Regions from separate parts of the Homo sapiens genome. Here regions 2 and 3 are each linked to region 1. The links are contacts of gene promoters, found by promoter capture Hi-C in blood cells and fetal thymus (Javierre and others, 2016). All regions are on one chromosome and are shown on one strand. Each heading gives the region's core, a stretch centred on a gene start or on the middle of the fragment in contact. The rest is flanking DNA. Distances are from core to core; before and after follow the strand shown.

Region 1 (4,348 bases), core at 1,084-3,583:
TTTTTTTGAGACAGAGTCTTGCTCTGTTGTCCAGGCTGGAGTGCAATGCACGAACTCAGCTCACTGCAACCTCCACCTCCCAGGTTCAAGTAATTCTCTGCCTCAGCCTCCCGAGTAGCTGGGATTACAGGCGCCTGCCACCACGTCCGGCTAATTTTTGTATTTTTAGCGGAGATGGGGTTTCACCATCTTGGTCTTGAGCTCCTGACCTCATGATCCACCTGCCTTGGCTTTCCAAAGCGCTGGGATTACAGGTGTAAGCCACCGCGCCCGGCCACTAATGACATTTTTTTTAAAGCTCTGAAGAGCTTTAAAGTTCATACCATCACTTACTTTGTCCAGTTTTCGTGACCGAAGTGCATGGGCGGCTCTGTGATATTGTGCTGTCAGGTAAAGACACTGAGCCAACCAATAGATGTCCTGGGGTTCTTCTGGAGGGAAAAATTCACATAAGTGGTCAGAGGTACAAGGTGAAATAGAAAACGAATTTTAAGATTAATCAGAAAACCAGTTAGCATTTTGTCACTTACCACGAGAGAGTGAAGCTACTTTATCTGCCCAAAATAGAGCACTTTGATACTGTTGCTGCATACCAAAAAAAAAAAAAGGTGGTAACTGCCCTGTTATTTTAATAGTCTTAAACAGTTATCTAATATTATTATAATTCTATGTAATATATTAATATAATTCTATGTAATAAATCTTCATCTCAAGACAACAATTTGTTACATCTCTATCTTACATCTCACGTAGGGTAAATTTTAGTTCAGTGTCGCAATACAAACATTCCTGTAATATCTTTGTATATGCAACTTATGAAGGTAATTTTTTAAAACTCATACACTGTAAAAATGTATCGTGAAACATACAAGTGAAATGCAAGTGAAACAGCAAAAGCTAGTCATTAACAATTCATGTGTGATTTATATAACACTTTCAACGAGCTGTTAATGAATCCCAAAGTGAAATTTAGAAGACAGAACACTATACTCAAATACCTTATATAACACAGTGGCAGTTTTAATAACACTCAAGTTTAAAAACACACACACATAAATTAACTAAGCTTCACTGAACATGGGGAAGAACTCACCTCCTCCAAGTCTAACAAAAATGAAGGAGCCGACAATGAGGGCCACCCACAGTGACCTACGGCTAGCTTTAGACCCTGTTCTGCTCCTCAGTCCTCAGTCTTCTACAGTCTCTGCCTCAGTTCCCCTGGAGACAAGCCAGGACCACTGCTGCTAGCCCGAGGCAGGAGGAATGCCAACGGGATAGTTATAAATATGCTCAATACCGGTGTCTCTGGCTGGAAACCGGGCCTGTCATATTCCTCACTACGTCTCCGTACCGAAGAAAAAGTGATCAGAAAACACTGAATTCAACTGACTCATGGTAAATAAAAACACAGCCCTCCAAATGGACTGCAAACATTTGGCCACGTCAGTTAGCACCCAATTCCGAAAACTCTGCATTACCATGGCTTTTCTTTCCCTTTCTTTCCAATTTCCTGAAAGAGCAAGCATTTCAACAAAAAATAAACAACAATATAGATAAAACTGATGCTGCTGATTCTCGAAGACACTTCTTGCCTTAAACGCTCTCTGCTATTCAAAGGTAGTGCAGAGAACACAGACATAGTTAACGAGAATTTTTAAAGTATTGATTTGAGACAACAGGCTTCTTCACATCTTTATTCACTTAAATTCAGCCCAGTAAAAATTACAACTAAACCTCTCAAAAATGTTTTATTAGCTAGCCCTGCAACTTTCCTCCAAAAATTGTCCTTCAACTTGCACTGAGTAGTCAGTGTTTCCTGGGCACCTCCTCCGCGCCAGGTGCAGAACGAGGCTCAGACCCGACTGAGGCGCCCCGTGCGCTCGGGGGCCTCCACTCCCCGGGCTGTGCCCCTCCCAGCTGCAGGGACCGCTCCCTTCTGGGCGAGGCGGAGACAGCGCTGCTGGCCCCAGATGAAGGCCCAGGGCCGGCCCAGTCCTTCCCCACCAAGAGCCCCGACAACAGTCACCCCAGCCCCACGCCGCGCGGAAAAAGACCCGGCGAGGCCTGGGCCCCGCACCCCGAGTCGGGGCCGCCCACCTGGTCGAGGTACTGCCGGACGCGCTTCCGCAGCCGCTCTAGGTTCATGGCGGCGCGGGCCCGGCCTCACGCCACACTCCGCCGCTAGGCGCGCGCCTCCTGCACCCTAAGCACCCCGCCCCGTGCCCGTGCCCGTGCCTGCAGCCGCCGCCGCCGCCCCAGGACTCGAAGGCCGCGGACTCGAAGGCCGCAGGTCCCCACCCACACCCGCACCCCCCACCCAGGCCCCGTGCACTGCCCAGGCTCTTCCGCTCCAGGCAGGCCCCGCCCCGGAAGTCCACAGCAAACGAATCCCATCTGGCGCGGGAAAACGGACCCGAGTTGTTGGTTCCGATGCCTCTCCTGGCACGTGGGCTTCTGGTTGCCTTGGGGCGAGAGCGCGGCCTCCCTGGAATCGCTGCGGCGCCTCTGGGCATTGGCGAGAGAGTCAGGAGGGCTCGGGGCCGGACCACCCACCCGGGCAAAAAAGCAGGTGGCTGCTGAGCCTTCTTTCCCCAGAATGTAGTCAACATTTTAAAAATAAGAGCAACGCACTCTCATTACAAAAAAAAAAAATTGTGTGCACAAACAGCAAATGAAGTCAAAGACAACCTAGGGAAAAATTTGAAACCTATCACAAAATTCGAATTTCCTTATAATGTAGAGCCAATATTCCCTTTACATATATGTAATAAGTCAGTGGGAAGAGACCAATGGCTCAGGAGAAAGACAGGCAAAAAACAGTTCACAGGGAAAGAAATGCAAATAGACTTTAACATACGAAAGAAAGTCCAACTTAATTCATAATAAAAATTAAAATTAGAGTACCACTTTTCATATGTTAACAAAGATCACAAAGGTTGATGACACTGCTAGCAGGAATGTCGGGAAGCAGGCACCCTCAAGTTTTGTGAGTGGTATTGGTATACTCTCTAGGATGAACGAATTGGAATATCTTCCAAATTTAAAGGTGTTCGTGCTGTTAAACCTAATGATTTTTATTTTGGGAAATATACCATGGATTTGCATTTTTGCATGTGTGCAAAATGACCTGTGGTTTCGTTTGTAATAGCAAAAGATTGCAGACAATTTAAACACCCATGAAGTATGGAACTGAGTAAATAGGTCATGATACGCTCACGTAATGGAATACTCGCTGGCTGTTCAAAAGAACAGTCAGCTTTGCATGGACATTGAACGATCTTCAAGATATAGTATGTGGGAAAAAGCAAGTATAGGATCGTGTTTATCGTATGCCTGCATTTGAGTAAAATACGAATTTAATGATAGGTAGAAAAATCCCTAAACTGTCCCAGGAAGGAAAAATGAGAAAACCGGCATAGCGCAAGGCCTCTGGAAGGAGTGCTGGAAGATGAGAGATGGTAGAAGTGGGAGAGGTACTTCCTTGGATATCTTTTTGTGCTTTTGAATTTCAGTCAATGTGCATATATTACCTTTTGTGAAATTAAATCATTCAAACTTAAAATAATTTAAACTTGAAGCTGTTGGAACTTTGAATTACCTGAGCCTTGAGGGGAATGTGGCTACGCGGCCTAGGTCATGCCACACCCAGCTGTAACTTCTGCCTTTTTCCCTGTAAACAATAAAGACCAAATGGCACCGGAGATAAGACCCCCTCAGATCACTACCCCTCCTCATGGAGTTATAACGCAATCTTCCTTCAAATACAGAGATCCCTAACCAATGGAACCGCTGCGGCGTGTGCCCCTGGTCTCATATGAGAACTGTGGTGATCCTGCTGGAGCTTCTGTCTCCGCCTGGTAAGAGAGACCTGAGCTCCACTTGGAAAGGCTGACCCCATTTGTCCAGGTGGCCATTCTCAGGCTCTGTGCTCAAATACACACTATATGTAATCATATTTCTGAATCTCAATATTAAGGTTGACACTTTTAAAAAGTAAATATAACTTTTATAAATATAAAAACCTAAAAGAGTAAAAAAAATTCAAAGAAGCAAAAAAAAAAAAACTTGCTGTAAAGAATCCCACCCACTCAAAAATTCTCTCACGCTACTGTAAGTAATCTGCCGTGTAATTTTCTATGTGTGTGTATACATATATGACTGGGTAATATTTTGAAGTTGTGTTTAAAAATTTGTCCCCCTGTATATTTCCTTTTCCTCCTCCTTTCCCACTTCTGCAAGCAGGCAGTAATCAACTCTGCTCATTAACTTGGGGCAGGCATGTGGTGAGGTGTGTTTTAAGCCATATTTTCAACGACTTCTATCCATTTAATGAGATTCCTAGTTAACC
Region 2 (4,348 bases), core at 1,060-3,559, 470 kb after region 1:
AGCTGAACCTGATCGCTGTTGCCGCGCATACAGCCACGAACATCATGGACAGGCAGTGTCTGGATTTCACTCTGCATTGCTGCCATGTGAACCGGGGGCTCCCTCCTGGTTTTATGTCTTTACCTCTCCTCTTAGTCTGGGCAAGATAAACATTAACCAAACTCAGACGAAAAACAAGACTCTAGAGCCACTGGTTCAAAAGGAAGAGAGGCTTATGCACATGTTTTTGCCTGAACTTTACACACTAGGACTTAATTTAATTTGCCACCCCCGTCCCAAACTTCATGCATTCTCTGAGCTTCCCAGGCCTCAGCATTGGTGGTTGCACACCACGTGAGGTTGATACACCAGCAACCCAGGGCCATGCTCGCTTAGACTAAGGTGTGAATGGTACTCGCTGAACCCTGTATCCAGGACTGTGCAGGCCACAGCCCGGGAACCTCAGAGCTGGTCCTGTAGACACCAGTGTGCTGGGGAGGCAGGGCTGACTCTTCTCAGAGCCCCAGTGCAGCTGTACCATCCCCTGATGAGGGACTCATGCTCCCCACCACCCCATGTACTTTCTTACCATTTGCCTTCTATTCTCCACCAAGTTGATGCCAATAATTCCTAAGAAAGATCCAAAGCCGAGCTAAAACCAAAGGAAGAACGAGAGAGAAACACTCATTAACGTGCCTAGAAGCTTAACACTGACATTTAAAGCAAATAATCCCGCCCTCAAAGGCATTTTATCCAGGGACGAAGGCCAGACATCCCTACCTCAAGAACCTCAACCACTGAGCAGCAGGTGCGTCTGCTGGCGTTGGGCAGGCATCTCTGCAACATCACCTGTCCTGTCTTCTCTGCTCAGAGGTTTTTAATGATGCATCTGTTTGGCTTGTGACTCTGGGGTAAGAGAAGTTCCCACTCCTCCCCCAGAGACAACATCTTTTCGGGAACCCAGGGCCACCAAGCACCACCATCTGTCCCGTCTTCTCCAGGCCTGAGATGCCCCTGAGCATGGCTCCTGGGTAAGGTATTAGGGAACTACAGCCGTGTTTCAAAAGAAGGGTTGCCAGGCACAAGGGCCACCAGTGACCCCTGCTCAGACGGCCTAACTCTGGTTGCTGCTTCGGGAGAGTGAGCAGGGCAGACCGTTAGCAGGGAGGTGCCAGGTGTGGGGAAAGGGCACCTGAGCCAGGCACAGAGGGGGCACCTGGGCCAGGCACAGAGGGGGCCCCGGGCTGCAGCACAGGCCACCAGGGGTCCGGCAGAGCCCCCTTACTCCACAGGAAGCCCCAGCTCTGGGCAGAAAATGATACTGGGATGTCGGGAAATAGACATGGGACTGTGCTGTCTTAGAACAGAGGCCACCGGCCGGGCATCCGCACCCTCCACCCAGGGCCCGTCCTGGCAGGTGACGCCCACCTGGCAGAGGAATTTTTAAAATCAGTGTGAAGAACATGCATTTCAGCAACACCCACCGAAAATCTGGCTCAGAGCAGCCAACATGGACCTGCCAACGACCGTGCCGAGGCCTAAGACGGCTCTTGCTCCCACGCAGGTGCGCCGGGCCGGTCGCACTTCCCAGTGAGTGTCTGTTGGAAGGGGTGGCCCGCCCGGCACAGCCTTGGAGTTGCTGGGGCCGTGGTGTCAAGTTTAATGCACTGGAAACCGGACTTCTTTATGTAAATAGTTTTGCCTTTTCTGTAATTGTCTGTGTGTCTGTGGTGATAGACACGTACACATGTGGCTTTCACCAACGGTTTGAGAATTCTCCAGGGATAACAGGAATATTTCTTCATGTGCTGAGCTTCAAAATACTGCAGTTCAACTCCACACGTCAAAAATATCAAAATTTCACTTCGATATACATGTATTAAAATACATCTGTTACACTACGTTTTATTTTTTGGGGATTTGAAAAAAACCACACCTTTCTTGAAAATGTGGAGATGTTTTCACGTTCTGGCCGCTTCTTCTGAGATCAGCTTCTTAAGTCTCTACATTGGCAGAAAGTCTCCACAGAAGTGACTCTTAGCCACGTTTCCTTGAAGCTGCTTTTATTTGTTGTCTCCCTAGTTTGCTTTCAGAACTGTCTGTACTACAGGCCATTTCAATCTGGTCAGCACAGCATTAATTCATTGCCCAGAAGGTAGATTCTTTACAGAGCATAGCTTGGGCATTAGCCATTGATGTTTTTCATTATGTTATTCTGAGGCAGCTCTTAAATAAGCTTGAGGACAAACCAAAAAAAACAACCACTCAAGGCTGATCTTGATGTTTCGCAAATCACTTGGAGGTCCCTCCTCACAGCCACTTGCCCTCTGGGCTCCCCTTTCTGCCCAGGAAGCAGAAAAGCCCCTCACATGAGGCCAAGGTCCCCACACCATTGGCCTCTTGCAATTTTACTGATAAAGCTTTTTCTGCATAGATACTATTTGTATATGTTTATTCATAAACTATACACAGGTAGATAGTGTAGATGTCTAAGGCACACCCTAAGATATAAACAAAGGAAAATATAATGGTGAAATAAACAGTATTTGTAAAATATTTCTAAATACTTAGGGCCAAAAATCTTTCATCTTTGCTGATTGTCATCAATATTATTACCAATCTTGGTAGTACTTTAGGTGAGAGTAATGAGATTGAAGAAGCCGCATTTTAAAATCTTGCTTTAGCACTTTATGACGTAGCAACCAGGCTCTGGGGCATGTGAAGGGCATCGCAGCTGATCCAAGCCATTCCAACAGAGGTTCACTGTGCAGAATGCAGGCACTTAGGAGAATTCTTTTACTAACGACAGAGGATGTAATTTCATAGTTCAAAAAACCTTGATACTTTTGAATCTGGGTGACCAATTCTTGCCAATTAGGTTACCATCAATTTACCTCGCCGCCTTACTGTTCAAAATCTGGCCTGACGGGTGGATGAGGTCAGCACCACCACCTTCTGGCCGTTCCCACGCGATCACGTCACTAATACGATCTTTGACCCACGGCTTCTTGGTAGGAATCGTTTAAAGTTACTTTCCCCTTCCATGGGCTATGGTGGTCGACCTGGTCCCTCAGGGTAAAATCCTTCCAGGATGCTTGGGGAGGCTCTGTCCGGCCTTTTTGGACATCCTGGGCTCCTGGCCCCTCCTCCACCTTGGACATTTCCTGTTGCCGGGCTCTGGCCCCCCTCCTGCCCTCTGGTCACCCTGTGACCACATCGGGCCAACCCAGACAATGGAGGGCACCTGGCCCTATTTTGAGATCAACTTGGACCTCAACCCCAATTCCCCTCTGCCTTGGACCTGCCACTGTCCCAGGTCCTGGGGATTGGGAAGTGCATGTCTGTGGGGGCCATAACCCTGCCGACCACAAGCACTGATCGAAGCCTCCCCACCTTCAGCCCCAGCCCTGTGAGCTGGCGTGGACTCCACCCTGAGAGAGCCACACACCACCCTGCCCTCCCCGGCCCAGGCCGCCCGCCCGGCGCACTCACAATGATCCCTGGGTAGTAGCCCCCAACGGTCACATTCTCCGTCCTGGTGGTGGCAGCCAGCCCGACGGTGACTATGAGGACGGACACCAGCAGCAGAGACCCCACAAACCAGAGCGACGTCTTCTTCCTCCTCGAAAGCCCTTCTGTGGGGAGGAAGGCGAGGACCTGTCAGTGAGGGCTCAGGCTCAGGAGGGCGTCAGGCCAGCAGGCTCTGGGCCGTGCTCCGTTACCCAGGGGTCCTGGGATGCACTATCCCCGCCTGCCTCCAGGCCCACCTCAGGGGACCACCCCCAACCTCCATTAGATAACAGAATAAAATCTCTGGACCATAAGCCACTATACTGGATAGCCTGGTATTTGCGGCCAAACCTAATTCTAACTGTCACAGAACTCAAGAAAGCAAACTAGAAAGGACTCCTTCCTATTGGCTGCCTCTTCCTCTATCTGACTTTCTCCCCCTGGTGTCCCCAGGAGGACAGGAGCATCTTTTGTTTACTGTTTTATCATTACCATTCGCTCACAGACACACCCTCTCTATCCGCCTATCCCAGCCACACCCAGTGGGGGAGGGGGCTGCCACCAGGGGAGGGGCAGGGAGAGAGGAACGCACACAGCAGCCATCCAGCTGTGCCATCTGTTTTGCTTTATTTTTTGAAAACTGAATCATCTTGATCCCTGTGTGACTCCAAACAAAATAGGGGATTTAAAAAACCATGGTAAGGTCTTCCTACTCCAAGAGTTTGAAAATCAACATTTGTGTGTGTGCACATGTGTAAGTGCGTGTGTGCAGGGAAAGCAGACCGCACACTGGAGAGCCGCTGGCAGCGATGACGGCCGTGCAGACATTGTCCACACCCTAGAAGGTCCGCATCTGAAG
Region 3 (4,348 bases), core at 1,301-3,800, 310 kb after region 1:
TAGAGCCCTAGTTTTTGGTTGTATGGCTGGCTTTGGGGAAAGGGGTTCTGGTTTCTAGGACCCACTGTGGGGAAGAAGGATTCCCATTTCTATGGCACCTTGAGTGAGAGTGGTACTGAGACACAGAGGATGGGAGAAGCTCAGACAGAAACTTGCTTCAGAGGCTGCTGCTGGGGCCCTCATTTTGGAGTATGATCTTCTAAGCCCCAACACAGGCACCAAAAATAACGTCCTAAGGCCCCCAGTGACTACATGGACCCGCTCTTGGCCAAGGGGACCCCAGAGAAACCTGGAAAACAGTTCCCGGCCGCAACAGGAAGGGAGATTGGACGCCTGGCTGTTCCCACTCCCTTTGGAATTTAGGCATTAATGTCAAAACAGAGATCAGAAGGCTGACAGAACTGACCGTGGCAATAAGAGCCCCAGTTACAAACAGGACCCAAGACCATGTCAGACGAGGGTTAAGTCAAGTCATGCACCCTGTTAGTCACCCCTGCCCCATGTTTCGGGTGCAGATGTCCTCATCGCTGACTCTAGGTTTTAGATAAAGCTTTGCTCCTTTAACCAGCCGCAAACTGAAGACTCTCTGAATCCACCTATAACCGATAAGGCTTGCTTCCAGATATCCCGCGTGTTCGAGCTGAGCCAATATATATCTCGTCCACCTGTAACGCCTGTCCCCTAAAGTGCATGAAGCCAGACTGTAATCCAGGCACCTCAGGAACACTCACTCTAGGCTTCTTGGGTTTGTTTTTTCTCCAAGCTGTGGTCACCGTATTAGGGGTCCCAATAAACCTCTTTAAAATGTTTTACAGAGTTTGGTTTTTCATTAACAGAATAATGGATTAAATTCTTGGCCATCGGTAATCAGTTCCATCTTCAGCTCCTGTCCTCTCTCCCCTCCCGCTTCCTGGAGGTTGGGGTGGATCTGAAAGTCCTCACCTATAAGTCCTGCCTTGGTCTTTCTGGGGAGCAGTCCCTTCCTGAAGCTGCCCAAGGGTCACCAGCTCTGTCCTCTCGTCAGCACACAAAAGACACGCTCATCACTCAAGAGGTTCCAGGTCTCTTAGAAGCTCTGGTGTTGGGAATCTGGGACGAAGACCAAATCTATATTTTGTTATTATCACAATACCATGGCAACAGTCTGCAAACCAGGAAGAGAGCCTCACCAGACGCCAGCCATGCTGGCACCCTGATGTTGGCCTTTCTGCCTCCAGGACTGAGCGAGAAAAATGTTTGTGGGGTGAGCCCTGGTCTGTGGTGCGCTGTTATGGGCGGGACCCCTGTAAGCCCAGAGTCAGCGCTTGCTGCATCCCTGCTCTCAGAGGCGTGTGGCAGTTGCCTTTCCCTGTGGAGGGTTGGGTGAGATTGCCCTTGCACTGACAGCAACTGAAGGACGATTGAGGGCCCTAGATCTCTGGGTGCAGGGCACCTGGTGAAACGACCCGCCACACATGACTGATTTTCAGCCAAAGATCACTTGTAGCTTACCAAATATGCCAGACCAAAAACTAAAACCAAAAGTTGACAGAGAATCTTCATTTTACAAATGGAGAAATCAGAGCATCCTAATGGTGAGCAACTTGTTTAAAAAGGAAAATTCTGTATGGCTGTGGATCTGCGGCTGCTGTCAAAGGGTTGCTTTCAGTAACTTGCCAATAACGGTGGAGCTGTTGTGCTTGCTTCCTAGCCAGAGATCGTGTCAAATAAAATAACCCTAATTTTGGAATTAGATAGGTTGAGTTCAATTCCTAGCTCCTGAAAAATGATTTTGAACTTAGAAATTGGTTCCAGCAATATTATGAGTCAAGTATGAAGGTAGAATAAAGATGTTTTGTGGCATTCAACCTTCCAAAACATTTACCTGTTTAAACTTATTTTAGAAAGTTACTTGAGGATGTGCTCCAGCAAAATGAAGGAGAAAATAAAGAGGAAGACCTGGGATCCAACACATAGTGGATTCAACTGAGAAAAGTTGTGGAGGGAAGTCCCAGGAGGAGAGCTGCACACTGGATCTGAGAGAGTAGCACAATGTAGGCTGCACATGGGGCTCATCCTGAGGAGACCTCCTGGCATAATGGAGCACTGGGGGTGAAGGCAGATAGAAGATAGTCGGGAGACTATGAACACACATGAGAATGTGTTGTGAGAAAAAAAGTCAAAACTATCAGGGTGGGCGAAGGGCAGGGGGAAGCTGTTGATGGAATGAAAAATAACCATCATGCTTTGTTTGGCTCAGTCATAAGCAATATTTACTTAGTCATGAAAATGTAAATACTAACTATGGATTTAACTAAAAATAGAGATATAATTATAGTGTGGATGTGGAAGTAGGGGAGATGGAGCTAAAATACCTGTCCAGCAGGAAATAAACAGATAATGTCTAAAATGGGTAAGTCAAGCAACAAAAATAGAGGCATATGATTTTGTGATAAAACAGTCATGACCAGAAGGAACAGCTTTAACAGGGACAAGTAGTTGCTTTTGCAAAAAGAGAATTAGGACGTGGCTGGGTGGGAGGCAAGTAACTGTCAGCTCCAGGGTCCACATCTGGTCCTGCTTTATTCCACAGTTCAAGTGTATTGTGTAAAGATCGATATTTTAATTAAAGTGTAATAAGGTGAGATAATTAAATAGTAAAAATAAATAAATAAATAAAACAAAGCTGCCCATTCCCTTACCTTGTTGCTGAGCTTCCCACAGCCCCCAGGCCCTACCCCGAGGGCTTCCTGCAGGACAGTGCACATTGCAGCTGCTGCAGCAGGAACGGGATGCACTGGTCACTCACAAACCACAAAGCGGAACTGGAAGCTAGTGGAGTGGGGGAAATATTTGCAGTAAATATGACACAAAGATTAATAGCTACTTATAGATTTCACATCTATTAAGGTTCATCTGTAAAATCACTGTAGTTGGGGTTTGGAACACAGAGAAACTCACACATGAAGCAGCACTGAATACACGGGAAAGACACGGTCACATGCACAGGGCACACAGGAGCGATGCAGTGGGCACAGGTCACCACGCATGGCCCAGGAGATGCAAGGAAGCGGAGCACCACTCTGTCCACTCAGATGCCCAGCTCTGCACTCAGCAGCCACGGCGAAGAGGGCAGCCTCGGAAGCGATCTGACAAAACCTAGGGGTGAATACAGGAGTTCACACCTTTGACCCACTCTCCCACTAGAAAGTAATGACAGGAGGAATGATGAGGCTCTGGGTGGCAAATGCATAACAGGAGACAATCCAACTATCTAGCAATGAGGCATTAAGTAGATCAAGGCACATCTATTTGTGGCTTATGAGTTACTGGGTGGATGTGGGGTGGACACAGGGAGCCCAGTAGGCCACAGCCCCCATCCTCCATTCCCACCACGCCTCACAGCTCCCTCCTCACTTGGGTGGACCTTGTACAGTTCTACCATCCAGCAGCCATGTAAGTATCTGCCAGATTAAATTCCACATCCACTGAAGGATGAAGAGAGCAGACAAGACTTTAAGCAGATTTCCCCCTCTAGCCTCTCTGTGAGCTCCATCTGCAGGCGCTGCCTGTAGGGCCTGACATACTCAGGGCCCAGCACACATGGGGCCTGGCACACACACGGTCTGGCACACACAGGCCCAGCACACATGGGGCCCAGCACACTCAGGGCCTGGCACACACACGGTCTGGCACACACAGGCCCAGCACACATGGGGCCCAGCACACTCAGGGCCTGGCACACACACGGTCTGGCACACACAGGCCCAGCACACTCAGGGCATGGCACACTCAGGGCCTGGCACACACAGGGTCCAGCACACACAGGGTCCAGCACACTCAGGGTCTGGCACACTCAGGGCACAGCACACTTAGGGCATGACACACACAGGGCACAGCACACTCGGGGTCTGGCACACTCAGTGCCTGGCACACTGGGGGCACAACACACACAGTGCACGGCACACTTGGGGCCTGGCACACACTCAGGCCCGGCACACTCAGGATCTGGCACACTCAGGGGCTCCGGGGCTCCAGGGCTCCAGGATATTAATGCTGGTGCCTGGAGTTCTCAGAGGTGTCTAGGGGCACAGAAGAGGCACTGGCTGGGCCTCCTGGACAGGGTGAGGGTGGGGCGTCACATTCTATTTCGAAAATAAGGAGTGTTTTTAAAAAGCAGTAAAACCCATAAAAGGAAACTCCTCAGAGCCACATCTTGAGGTTTACCTGGACATGAACCCGTTTGCCTCTTTGGAGTTTCCAGGTGCTGGGCCCAAGCCCTCTGTGCAGGCCCCAGAGCAGCGGCTGGGAATTCGGAGGGTGTGGAGGGCATCCTGAGGCAGGGGGATCCGGGCGGGCAGCACAGGGC

Evidence for each region. The method cuts DNA at HindIII sites, captures the fragments that hold promoters and counts their contacts. A CHiCAGO score of 5 or more calls a contact.
Region 2: a fragment that was not itself captured here is called in contact with the fragment with the promoter of CDC16 in region 1 in 1 of 17 cell types (M1 macrophages); the score reaches 5.8 in M1 macrophages.
Region 3: a fragment that was not itself captured here is called in contact with the fragment with the promoter of CDC16 in region 1 in 1 of 17 cell types (endothelial precursors); the score reaches 5.8 in endothelial precursors.

Annotation. Positions count from the first base shown.
Region 1 is chr13:114,232,882-114,237,229 of GRCh38, reverse strand. CDC16 (cell division cycle 16) reads right to left here and starts at 2,333. Exons shown (of 18, transcript NM_001078645.3): 1 at 2,098-2,333; 2 at 531-585; 3 at 334-431. The coding sequence starts at 2,145. RefSeq lists a silencer at 2,015-2,374 and an enhancer at 2,485-2,534. The HindIII fragment of the contact is 7,021 bases long and covers 1,069-4,348 here.
Region 2 is chr13:113,765,381-113,769,728 of GRCh38, reverse strand. It overlaps TMEM255B (transmembrane protein 255B), which reads right to left. Exons shown (of 9, transcript NM_182614.4): 2 at 3,472-3,614; 3 at 569-631. Among named protein-coding and RNA genes, the nearest start is that of TMEM255B, 8.3 kb to the right of the region's middle. The HindIII fragment of the contact is 184 bases long and covers 2,218-2,401 here.
Region 3 is chr13:113,919,513-113,923,860 of GRCh38, reverse strand. It overlaps LINC00452 (long intergenic non-protein coding RNA 452), which reads right to left. Exons shown (of 8, transcript NR_164112.1): 6 at 4,207-4,348; 7 at 2,941-3,138; 8 at 2,544-2,811. Among named protein-coding and RNA genes, the nearest start is that of SWINGN, 7.3 kb to the left of the region's middle. RefSeq lists an enhancer at 3,253-4,137. The HindIII fragment of the contact is 3,996 bases long and covers 553-4,348 here.